Regions from separate parts of the Homo sapiens genome. Here all the other regions are linked to region 1. Evidence: promoter capture Hi-C in human tissues and cell types (Jung and others, 2019). All regions are on one chromosome and are shown on one strand. Each heading gives the region's core, a stretch centred on a gene start or on the middle of the fragment in contact. The rest is flanking DNA. Distances are from core to core; before and after follow the strand shown.

Region 1 (3,544 bases), core at 464-2,963:
GCACACAACATAGTGTCTCAACAATGATCTCAACATTCTAACGCTTTAGAATCCGTTTACCTTCTGTGTTCACCTATATCAGGATCCAATACCTGTGTGAATCTTTTCGGGTCATATTTAGACGTGCACTTTCCTGCATCTACACACACTCTCAAGTTCCTCTAGAATGTTTAAGAACTCAACTGTGTGGGATGTTAAGAAGTACGCCAGAAATAATTTCTTGGACTCCAGATAACGTACCTGCAAAAAGAGTCATTTGGTAGGATACCACAAATATCCTACTGAATTCTGAAACGTTTGTTCCTGAGTCCGACTCCCCTTCTGACCACATCTACTCAATTTTGTTTCCACCGAAGGAACGCTCCGCAGTCACAAAACTTTCATCATGATTACGGACGCACCACCTAAAATGCATGCTCAGAAGTCAAAGTCCTATGAAAATACCCTCGATGAGCATTTGGTGAATTGCTGCGTTTTTAACCCTCTTACTCTGCTCCCCTCAGCTGCACGGCCCCTAAAATCACAAGCGTTCACCGCCCAGGCTCGGGGTCTTTGACTCAGCAGAGAAGAATGTGGCTGATGAGTTATCTATTAATCCAAAAAACCTCGGCTAGAAAGATATTTCACCAAGAACTTTTAACACGGAAAGGGAGGGGGCAGGGAATAGAGGTATCTTTTAACGAGAACTTTCCCCCGAGTTTCTTCCTTAAACTGCTCCCCCCCCGACCCTGAATCCATACACAATTTCCAGCCCCGGCCCTAAGTCCTGACCCTCCGAGTCCCGATTATCTGAGGTCACCCAGGAGTCAGCTCTCGGTTCCACTTATAAATCCCGGGCAAACAAAGCTGAGCATTATACTTACAAAAGTCTCCGAAAAGTCCTTGGAGTTACGCAATTTGGGGCCCGCAGACGCGCGTGGACACAAAAACACACGCTCCCGAGATCCACCCTCCCCGGGCCACACTGTGGGGCTGCGTCCGGGGCACGGGCCATGCCTGAACCTTCTTCCACCGCCGCGCCCCGGGCCCGCGCCCCGCCGGCCGCCCGCACTGGGTCCCGCGTCGCCCCCGCCACCACACCGAGCCGCCCAGTACCTCCTCCTCCTGAAGGTTGGCCTCGCTCGGGGTGTTCTCCTTCTCGGCTTTGCCGCCGTTGTTCATCTTCCCGGTCCTTCCTCGCCGGGCCGGGCAGGGCTGGGGCGCGGGGCTGGGCGAGGGCGCGCTAGCCCACTGGAGCCTTCCCCGGGCGCCGGGGCTCCCTCGGGCGGGCGCCGCGGGCTGTGGGGCTGGAGCTGGAGCCGGGGCAGTGGCTGTCGGGCTCGGGTTGGGCTGGGGCTCCCGCGGCGAGTCTGCGACGGCGGCGGCGGGCGACTCAGGAAGTGCAAGGGAGAGACGGGGCAGGGCGCGGGCCGGGAGCGGGGCACCGAGACAATCGGGCCCCGGGAGGGCGACCTGGAGAGGGAGGGCGGGAGCCAGGGGAGGAAGGAAGAAGGAAGGAAGGAAGGAAGCAAAGGATGGGGCGAGGACGCGCGTCCCAGGAGTAAGCGCGGAGAGTTGGGGCTGGGGGCTGCAGCCGCTGGAAGGAGGGGACGGGGGTGCCTAGAGAGGAGGAGGAGGAGGAAGAGGAGGAGGAGGAGCGGGGCGGAGGAGCGCGGGCCGCGGCTGGGACGCTGGGACCCGAGAGCCGCTGAGTACGCGCTCCAGGCAGGCTCTGGGAAGTCCGGGATGGAAGCAGCTCCCTTTCTCTCGCCTTCCTCCCTCCCCTCTCCCCTCCCTCCTCTCCGCGCCTCTCCTCCTCCCTCCGCCCTCCCTGGACGTGGGCTGCCGGCTGCAGCCCGGAGGGACGGGGCGCGGGACGGAGCCCCCCGCGGGAGGAGGGGCCGGCGGCCGGATGGCGCGCGCCGGGGAGGGGCAGCGGGCCGCGGGCGGAAGCGGCGACCCCAGCCCCCGACTCAGCGGCTGGTCGGAGGGCGAGGGCCCGGGAGGCCGAGGGCAGGGAGGTCGGGTCCCGCCGTTCCCTTGGCCCCCGGGGGCCCCGGCGTCTGCGCGCCCCGGGACTTCGGGGACCCTGCCCCGCCGGGGCCTGGACCGGGACCTGGGATGTGTGCGACTTTTAGTTTGCCGGCTTTTACCGAGGGATTTGCACCCCTGGCCCTAAGCCCACCCTTCCCGAGCCAGACCCGGTTCTTCCTCTGCTGCTTGAATGACAGCATGAGAACTCGAGGGACACCGGGGACAGCCCACTCCGGGCCGGCTTTTTCAGGACAGGGCTTCAAACCCATCTCCAGCGCGGGTCCTGCGACGCGCCCGGAGCCTTCCCCGCTTCGCTTCCTGAGCGTCCCGCGGCCCCCCGACTCCTCTCCCAACTCTCACCAGACTGTTCTGGGATTGTTTACCTGGCCTCTCCCTCACCCTTCAGAAAGCTCCTTCCTGGAAGAAAAAAAAAAATCCTGCCCTATTTATCTTTTTAATCCCACGGCTATTTAAACGGGCTAAGGGGTATATAGCAGGCACTCAATAAATATTTGTTGGCAAAGTGAATATTCCTTATTGCAGGCAGAGCTGGGGGTCCGTACGGAGGAACTTCAGAGGCTGGAAGCACGCTTGAAAAAGAAAGGGGGCCTGGGCTTTGCACCAGCTTCAGGATTGCGTACTTGTTTCCTCATCCGTGAAATGGGAGCAGCTGAATGTGTCTCCTCGAGTTTTCGAGGTGATTATAGGTTGATAGAGCTATATACAGCACCCAGCATTTATTCTTGCTTCGTTTAGGTTTACAATACATGGAAGCTAACATTATTATTAAGAAAACTTCTATTTTTCCAGGGCCTTAGAAAGCGTTTCCAATACTCGATCATTTAAGCTTATGGTTTTTTGGTTTTTTTTTTTTTTAGAAAAATGAGGGTCTCACTTTGTTGCTCAGGCTGAGCTCGAGCTCCTGGCCTCAAGTGATCCTCCTGCTTTTGGCCTCCCAAACTGATGGGATTACAACGTGGAGCCACCGTGTTAAACTCTTAGATTTGACTGCTACAAAGGTATAAATGTGGAACTCCATATATCAGTGGGTTCTGCCCCACTTCTTCCTCCCAGGAATTCTCCATCCCAGCCTGCTGCTCCTGTCTTGCACCGGTAACAGTTTCCAACTACAGTATTTGCTTAACTGTTTCTCCCCACCCCCACCAGACATTCTTTATACTTGGTTTAAGTGCTGCTGGGGATAGGGCGGGGGTGGCTGTGGGAGTTGCAGATAAGGACCCTCCCTTTAGGGAGTTTAAAGTGGTATGGTGGCTCACACTTGGAATCTCAGCACTTAAGGAGATAGAGGAAAGAGGATTGCTTGAGCCCAGGAGTTCAAGACCTGCCTGGGCAACATAGTGAGACTCTGTTCTCCACAGAGGGGAAAAAAAGAAAAGACAAAAAAATAAAGTGGTATGGAGCCAAGATACTCTCAGAATCCTCTTTCCGATTATAGAAAGCAAGGAAAATATTTGCTTTAAGGGCATTATGAGGAGAAAAACAGTAGTGATACTTGGATTTACATATTGGA
Region 2 (3,544 bases), core at 500-2,999, 54 kb before region 1:
ACCTGTGCTCATTGCAGCATTATTCACAATAGCCAGGTGGTGGAAGCAACCCAAACATCCATTTGACAGAAGGATGGAAAAATACGATGGAAGCCTTAAAAAGGAAGGAAATTCTGGCACACGCTACGACATGGATGAATTTTGAGTACATTAGGCTGACTTAAAGCCAGTAACAGACAAATACTGAATGATTCTACTTACATGATGTATCTAACTAGTCAAATCCATAGAAAAAGGGAGTAAGAATGCTGGTTGCCAAGGGGTTAGAGGTGGGGTGGATGTGGGGACAGCGAGCTGTTGTTTAATGGGTATAGAGTTTCTGTTTTGCAAGATGTAAAAGTTGTGGAGCAACAATGTGAATATACTCAACACTACTGAACTGTACACTTAAAAAAGGCTAGGGCTCAGCACAGTGGCTCACACCCGTAATCCTAGCACATTGGGAAGGAGGATTGCTTGAGGCCACAAGTTTGACACCCGCCTTAGTAATAGAATGAGACCCCGTCTCCAAAAAATAAAATAAACAAATGGTTAGGATGGTAAACTTTTGTTTTGTGTACTTTACTGCAGTTGATTGATCGAATGACTGATTGATTGACTGACTGACTGATTGATTGTAGAGACGAGGTCTCACTATGTTGCTCAGGCTGGTCTTGAACTCCTGGCCTCAAGTAATCCCGCCTCAGCCTCCCAAAGTGCTGGGATTACAGGCGTAAGCCACTGCACCTGGCTTTAATTTTTTTTTAATTATAAAAAATAAGCACAGCCTGGGCAACATGGTGAAACCCCGTCTCTACAAAAAATACAAAAATTAGCTGAGCAAAGTGGTACATGTCTATATTCATACCTACTCAGGAAGCTGAGGTAGGAGGACTGCCTGAGCCAGGTCAAGGCTGCAGCGAGCAGTGATGGTGCCACTGCATTCCAGCCTGGGTGACAGAGGGAGACCCTTTCTCAAAACAAAAACAAAACAAAAGGAAAAAAAAAAGTCAAAAAACGGGCAATTAGCAAGAGGGAAGCAAGAGGGGGTGTGGGGGAGCCAAACTCTAAGAAAGAAGTTTTTCCTCCTAACCTTTAGAAGAATGTATCATCACAATGTCAAAAGATTTGCTCACCGCATTCCTTCTTTGAGACCCTCACTGCAAAGTCAGCCTATTCAAAGTTTCTCGTAGGTGCTAAGCTATGGGTTTCCTTGTAAATCATGAATCAAAGGAAAATATTTTGCTTTATGAACAAAATTACTTTTGTACTTCTTGGAAATTGCCCATTCATGACTTCCCACTCACCTGTAAGATCTGCCAAGAAACATGGAAGAAAGAAAACACATCCTTTCCTTTTGACTTTGATTAAAGAGGTTTGCTTTTAAATGATACTATGAAATGTACGGAGAGCACACACAAAGTTTATCTCCAAACATTATTTCCTGAGCATAGTAACTGACTACAGCTGTTAATTTAGTCTCAAATAAGAACAAAATAACAACTAGTACTGCAGTATCAGAGTATTTTTGACGCTTAAAGGTAAACTCAGATATTCCCCCTCAGCAAACAAACATTTAAAATAAGTCACATCTTCTTGTAATTTCAGTACTTTGGGAGGCCAAAGCAGGTGGATCACATGAGGTCAGGAGTTTGAGACTAGCCTGGACAGCATGGTGAAACCCCATCTCTATTTCTAAAAATACAAAAATTAGCCGGGTGTGGTGGCATGCGCCTGTAGGCCCAGCTACTAAGGAGGCTGAGGCATGAGAGTAACTTGAACCTGGGAGGTGGAGGCTACAGTGAGCTGAGATTGCACCACTGCACTCCAGCCGGGGCTGGCAGAGCAAGGCTATTTCAAAAAAAATAAATAAAAAAAAAGTAAGATCGCATCTTCCTATCTCTCTATATAGATACGATGCGAACTTGATGACAAAAATCATGGGACATCAAGCCTATCTAATAATATCATTATTGCAAAGACAAAGAAAAACATTTATTAAGGTAGAATAATATAATATCTGCATTCAAATGCCTCTCTCATTATGCCCCAGTGTGTTAGAATAAGAGCTAAAGACAGTGATCACACAAAGAATTTAATTCTAGTGCAGAAGTAAATATGGTAATTCTTACATTCCTCAGTTTAGAGGTAGTCAGTTAAGCTTTTGCTTGAGCAAATGTTTCCTCAATCAAGTCACAAGTTTCACGTAAATGGCATTTTTGGCTGCTATTTTTCCTCCTTCCTTGCAGTAATGACCACGTCAACACTTCCTGGTTCCACTTACGGTCAGTCTCCTTCATTGTACAGGGAGGACAGAAGGGAAAAATCCACTTGGTTATACTCTGTACCTGATAAAAGTAATGACTAACCTAAAACATGGAAAGTAAAAGGCCAACACAAGCAATTGGCTCACTCTGTTGCTCGGGCTGGTCTCAAACTCCTGGCTACATAGGTGATCCTCATGTCCTGGCCTCCCAAAGTGTTGGGATTACAGGCATGAGACTGTATTATTTAGAGAACCCTGCTGATTAGCTTATTTTACCAAAAACTACCAGGTTATTTATCAGAGGAAAGGGGAAGATAGGAATGAATAATAAGTAATAAATAGCTATAATTGTGCTCTAAGATGAACTTGCAAAATAGATAAATCATTTCCTAAGTAAAAATAACAACTTTTTTTTTTTCTTTTTTTGAGACGGAGTCTCACTCTGTCACCCAGGCTGGAGTGCAGTAGCACAATCTTGGTCCATTGCAACCTCCACCTCCCAGGTTCAAGTGATTCTCCTGTCTCAGTCTCCTGAGTAGCTGGGATTACAGGCATGTGCCCACCACGCTCGGCTACCTTTTTTTTTTTTTTTTTGAGATGGAGTCTCGCTCTGTCACCCAGGCTGGAGTGCAGTGGCGTGATCTGGGCTCACTGCAACCTCCATCTCCCGAGTTCAAGTGATTCTCCTGCTTCAGCCTCCAAAGTAGCTGGGATTACAGGCAAGCAATATCATGCCCGGCTAATTTTTTTATTTTTAGTAGCGACAGGGTTTTGCCATGTTGGCCAGGCTGGTTTTAAACTCCTGACCTCAGGTGATCCACCTGCCTCGGCCTCCCGAAGTGCTGGGATTACAGGCATGAGCCACCAAGCCCAGCCTAATTTTTGCATTTTTAGTAGAGATGGAGTTTTACCATACTGGCCAGGCTGGTCTGGAACTCCTAACCTCAAATGATCCTGTTGCCTCAGCCTCCCAAAGTGCTGGGATTACAGGCATGAGCCACCACGCCCAGCCAATAACATCGTTTTTAAAAAAGCCTTCAAAGAGTTCAATACAAAATTTTTCTGAAGTAAAGTTATTTTTCCAAGTGGCAGGCTCTGATAAGATCAATTTTAACATTTTGACTTATAATCCCAACAAATCTAGGTCAAAATGCTACATATATCGGCTGGGCGCGGTGGCTCACGCCTGTAATCCCAGCACTTTGGGAGGCCGAGGCAGGCGGATCATGAGGTCAGGAGATCAAGACCATCCTGGCTAACACGGTGAAACCCCATCTCTACTAAAAATACAAAAAATTA
Region 3 (3,544 bases), core at 673-3,172, 36 kb before region 1:
TACAAAATTAGCCAGACATGATGGAGGGTGCCTGTAATCCCAGTTACTCAGGAGGCTGAGACAGGAGAATCACTTGAACCCAGGAGGTGGAAGCCAAGATCGCACCACTGCACTCCAGCCTGGGTGACAGAGCAAGACTCCATCTCAAAATAAAATAAAATAAAAATAAAATAAAATAAAATAAAAAAATAAGAAAAAGAAAAACAACAGTAGATTATCCTACCCATCCCAGCCCCCTACTGCTTTTAAGAACTTTTTCTCAATTACCTACCTGGTTATTACTTTATTCTTATCTCTATCATAGCAACCAGCTTTTTTTTTCTTTTTTCTTTTTTGAGACAGAGTCTCGCTATGTCACCCAGGCTGGAGTGCAGTGTTGCGATCTTGACTTACTGCAACCTCCGCCTCCCGGGTTCAAGCAATTCCCCTGCCTCAGCCTCCCGAGTAGCTAGGACTATAGGTGCGTGCCACCACACCCAGCTAATTTTTGTATTTTTAGTAGAGACGGGATTTCACCATGTTGGCCAGGATGGTCTCGATCTCTTGACCTTGTGATCCACCTGCCTCAGCCTCCCAAAGTGCTGGGATTACAGGCATGAGCCACCATGCCCGGCCAGTAAAACAGCCTTTTTAACCTTGTGTGTAATACTTTCCACCTAACCCATAAAACATGTGAGGATATGACATTATCCTTGGCACATAGTAGGTACCTAGAAAATTTGTAAAAAATAATTTGTCATGTTTGGCTTTCAAATGTAGGAATACTAAATATGATATTTGAAAATGATGTTTGTACTTAAGGAATTTTTAATAAGAAACACAAACATAACAAAAACACTATAGAGGATTTATGGAAACATCACCACAAAGTAGTGACATAATTCCTACATGTTCTTTAAGAAATTTACTTTAAATGATTGCTGCACATTTGCCTGTCCAGAACTAAAGTTAAATTATCCTGGTGGCTGCTGTCTGGTGATAATTTCTTAGTGCCAGGAAGCTGGTGAGTATGTGATTAAACATGTTTCCCCCTTAGCTCCACCCTAGATGCTATCAGGTTTGCTAACCAGAAGGTTCTGCAGCTGACCAGCTCATGCGCACACTCACACACACACACTCTCTCTCACACACACACACACCTCCCTAAGAAAACAAATTTTCACAAGAGTAATTACATACAAATTCTAAATCTCTAACCTGTACTTTTAAGCTCATCATCTTCACAATTCAGCACAAATAAATTTAAAGCATGGGATGAAAATAAATCAAAATTAGCCATTTTCATGACTTCAAATAGGTAAGTATTTTAAACTTTTAACTGATAATGTCACTAAAATACTAACTAGCCTGTCAATTGACTGAAAGTTTCTAAACCATTCCTAACTACTGTTCCTAGATAGACCCCGGACTCTCTTCATCTTCTGCCCTGATGACCCTTCAACTCTGAACTACTCTGCTACAATAGAGGAAGCATTTACAGGGAAAACACTACAACATGAAACACGAAGGCTTGACAGATTTTCCTTTTCTCATTTTATTCAAGTTCGGCAAATGTCTAATAGGTTGATTCCCTGCATAAGTAATTTTCCCAAAAGATAGTATCTTTCTAATTGGGAAATGAAGAAGCCTCCCGATAAAGTCTACAACATTGCTGAAAGTTAGAATCACATGCAATCAGTCCAGCCACTGAGAAACACTTCAACTGACCCGCATGAAAAATGCCCATCTAGCTCTGTGACCTTAAACTAGTAACTTTACCTCTGTGGACTTCAGTTTCATTTGGTGATTTGTCTCTTTTAACTACAATATTTCAAAATGGGTTTTGATATCCGGTGTGGAAAGTCCCCCCGAGTTCTTTTCCAAATTTTCTTGGCTTTATGTATGTTTATAAGTCCAGCTGACTTATAGATTAGCTTGTCAAATTCTGTTTAAAGTACTTGGGAATTTTTATCAGAATTTCATTTAATGTTTAATTTGGAGAAAAGAGACTTTACAATATCTATCCACAGAAATACAATCTGTATCTCCATTTACTTGGTATTTTCTTTCTTTTTTTTTTTTTGAAGCAGGGTCTTGCTCTATCACCCAGAATGAAGTGCAGTGGTGTGATCACGGCCCACTGCAGCCTCAACCTCCCAAGCTCAAGTGATCCTCCCACCTAAGCCTCCAGAGTAACTGGGACTACGGGCACACATCACCATGTCCAGTTAATTCTTTGGGTTTCTTTTGTTGAGACAAGGTCTTGCCATGTTGCCCAGGCTGGTCTCGAGCTCCTGGGCTCAAGCAATCCATGCATGTCGTCCTCTCAAAGTGCTGGGATTACACACATGAGCCACTGCACCAGACCTATTCAGGTCTTTTCTGTCCTTCAGAATGCAGTATTCTTCAAGCTGTTCTTGCAAATTTGTTTTTCATTGCTGTCAAGAATGGTATCTGTTTTTTATTATGTGTTCTAATTGATTAGTACAGGGTGAGAATCCCTTATGTGAAATGACTGGGACCAGATGTGTTTCAGATTTTGGAATATTTCCATATTTTAAAAATAATGAGATATGTTGGGGATGGGAACCAAGTCTAAACACAAAATTCATTCGCTTCATATACACCTTATAAACATAGCCTGAAGGTAGTTTTATAAAACATTTTTAATACTCATGTGCATGAAAACCAAGTTTTGACTGAAACCTGTCACATGAGGTCAAGTGTGGAATTTTCCACTTGTGGTACGTCAGTGCTCAAAAAGCTTCAGATTGTGGGGCATTTTGAGATTAGAAATGCTCTCTACCTGTACTACTTTCCTATGCTGACACACACACACACACACACACACACACACACATTTTTGAGATGCAATCTCACTCTGTCGCCCAGGCTGGAGTGCAATGGCATGATCTTGGCTCACTGCTACCTCTGCCTCCCAGTTTCAAGCGATTCTCCTGCCTCAGCCTCCTGAGCAGCTGAAACTACAGACGTGCACCACCATGCCCGGATAATTTTTGTATTTTTAATAGAGATGGGGTTTCGCCATGTTGGCCAGGCTGGTCTTGAACACCCAACCTCAGGTAATCCACCCACCACAGCTTCCCAAAGTGCTAGGATTATAGGCCTGAGCCATTGCGCCCAGCCATATTTTTAAAAATAAAATTAAAACCCTGTGATTTTTGTGTTTTTCTCATCTGGACATCTTACTGAAGTTTATTAGTTCTGTTTTTTTTTTTTTTTCAACTGATAATCTTGGATTTTCTATGCAGATGATGACATTTACAGCAAATGATAACAGGGGCCTATCTTTAAAAGGACAAGCAAAAAGACTAGGGAAAATATTTCTAAAATATATTAAAGACAAAAACAATCAATGTTTACAACGTATAAAGAGTGCCAAGGCCAGGAGCGGTACTCATGTGCATGAGTACCTGTACCACTAAAACAGATTTGGGAGGCCGAGCATTTTGGGAGGCTGAGGCGGATGGATCACTTGAGGTCAGGAGTTTGAGACCAGCTTGGCCAACATGGTAAAACCCAGTCTCTACTAGAAATACAAAAA

The links. Contacts are between HindIII fragments. The study calls those that stand out against the background at their distance.
Region 2: a fragment that was not itself captured here is called in contact with the fragment with the promoter of RBPMS in region 1 in 1 of the 25 tissues and cell types used here (neural progenitor cells).
Region 3: a fragment that was not itself captured here is called in contact with the fragment with the promoter of RBPMS in region 1 in 2 of the 25 tissues and cell types used here (bladder and spleen).

What each region holds. Positions count from the first base shown.
Region 1 is chr8:30,382,710-30,386,253 of GRCh38, reverse strand. It overlaps RBPMS (RNA binding protein, mRNA processing factor), which reads right to left and starts at 1,713. Exons shown (of 9, transcript NM_001008710.3): 1 at 1,096-1,713. The coding sequence starts at 1,161. RBPMS-AS1 (RBPMS antisense RNA 1) reads left to right here and starts at 853. Exons shown (of 3, transcript NR_046205.1): 1 at 853-1,110; 2 at 2,557-2,710. RefSeq lists enhancers at 584-1,255, 1,256-1,926. The HindIII fragment of the contact is 17,890 bases long and covers 1-3,544 here.
Region 2 is chr8:30,437,086-30,440,629 of GRCh38, reverse strand. The region is part of intron 1 of RBPMS (RNA binding protein, mRNA processing factor); the gene reads right to left. Among named protein-coding and RNA genes, the nearest start is that of RBPMS-AS1, 53 kb to the right of the region's middle. RefSeq lists an enhancer at 2,400-2,935. The HindIII fragment of the contact is 6,276 bases long and covers 1-3,544 here.
Region 3 is chr8:30,418,746-30,422,289 of GRCh38, reverse strand. All of the region lies in intron 1 of RBPMS (RNA binding protein, mRNA processing factor), which reads right to left. It overlaps LOC112268025 (a long non-coding RNA gene), which reads right to left. Exons shown (of 2, transcript XR_002956700.2): 2 at 2,415-3,544. Among named protein-coding and RNA genes, the nearest start is that of RBPMS-AS1, 35 kb to the right of the region's middle. The HindIII fragment of the contact is 8,156 bases long and covers 1-3,544 here.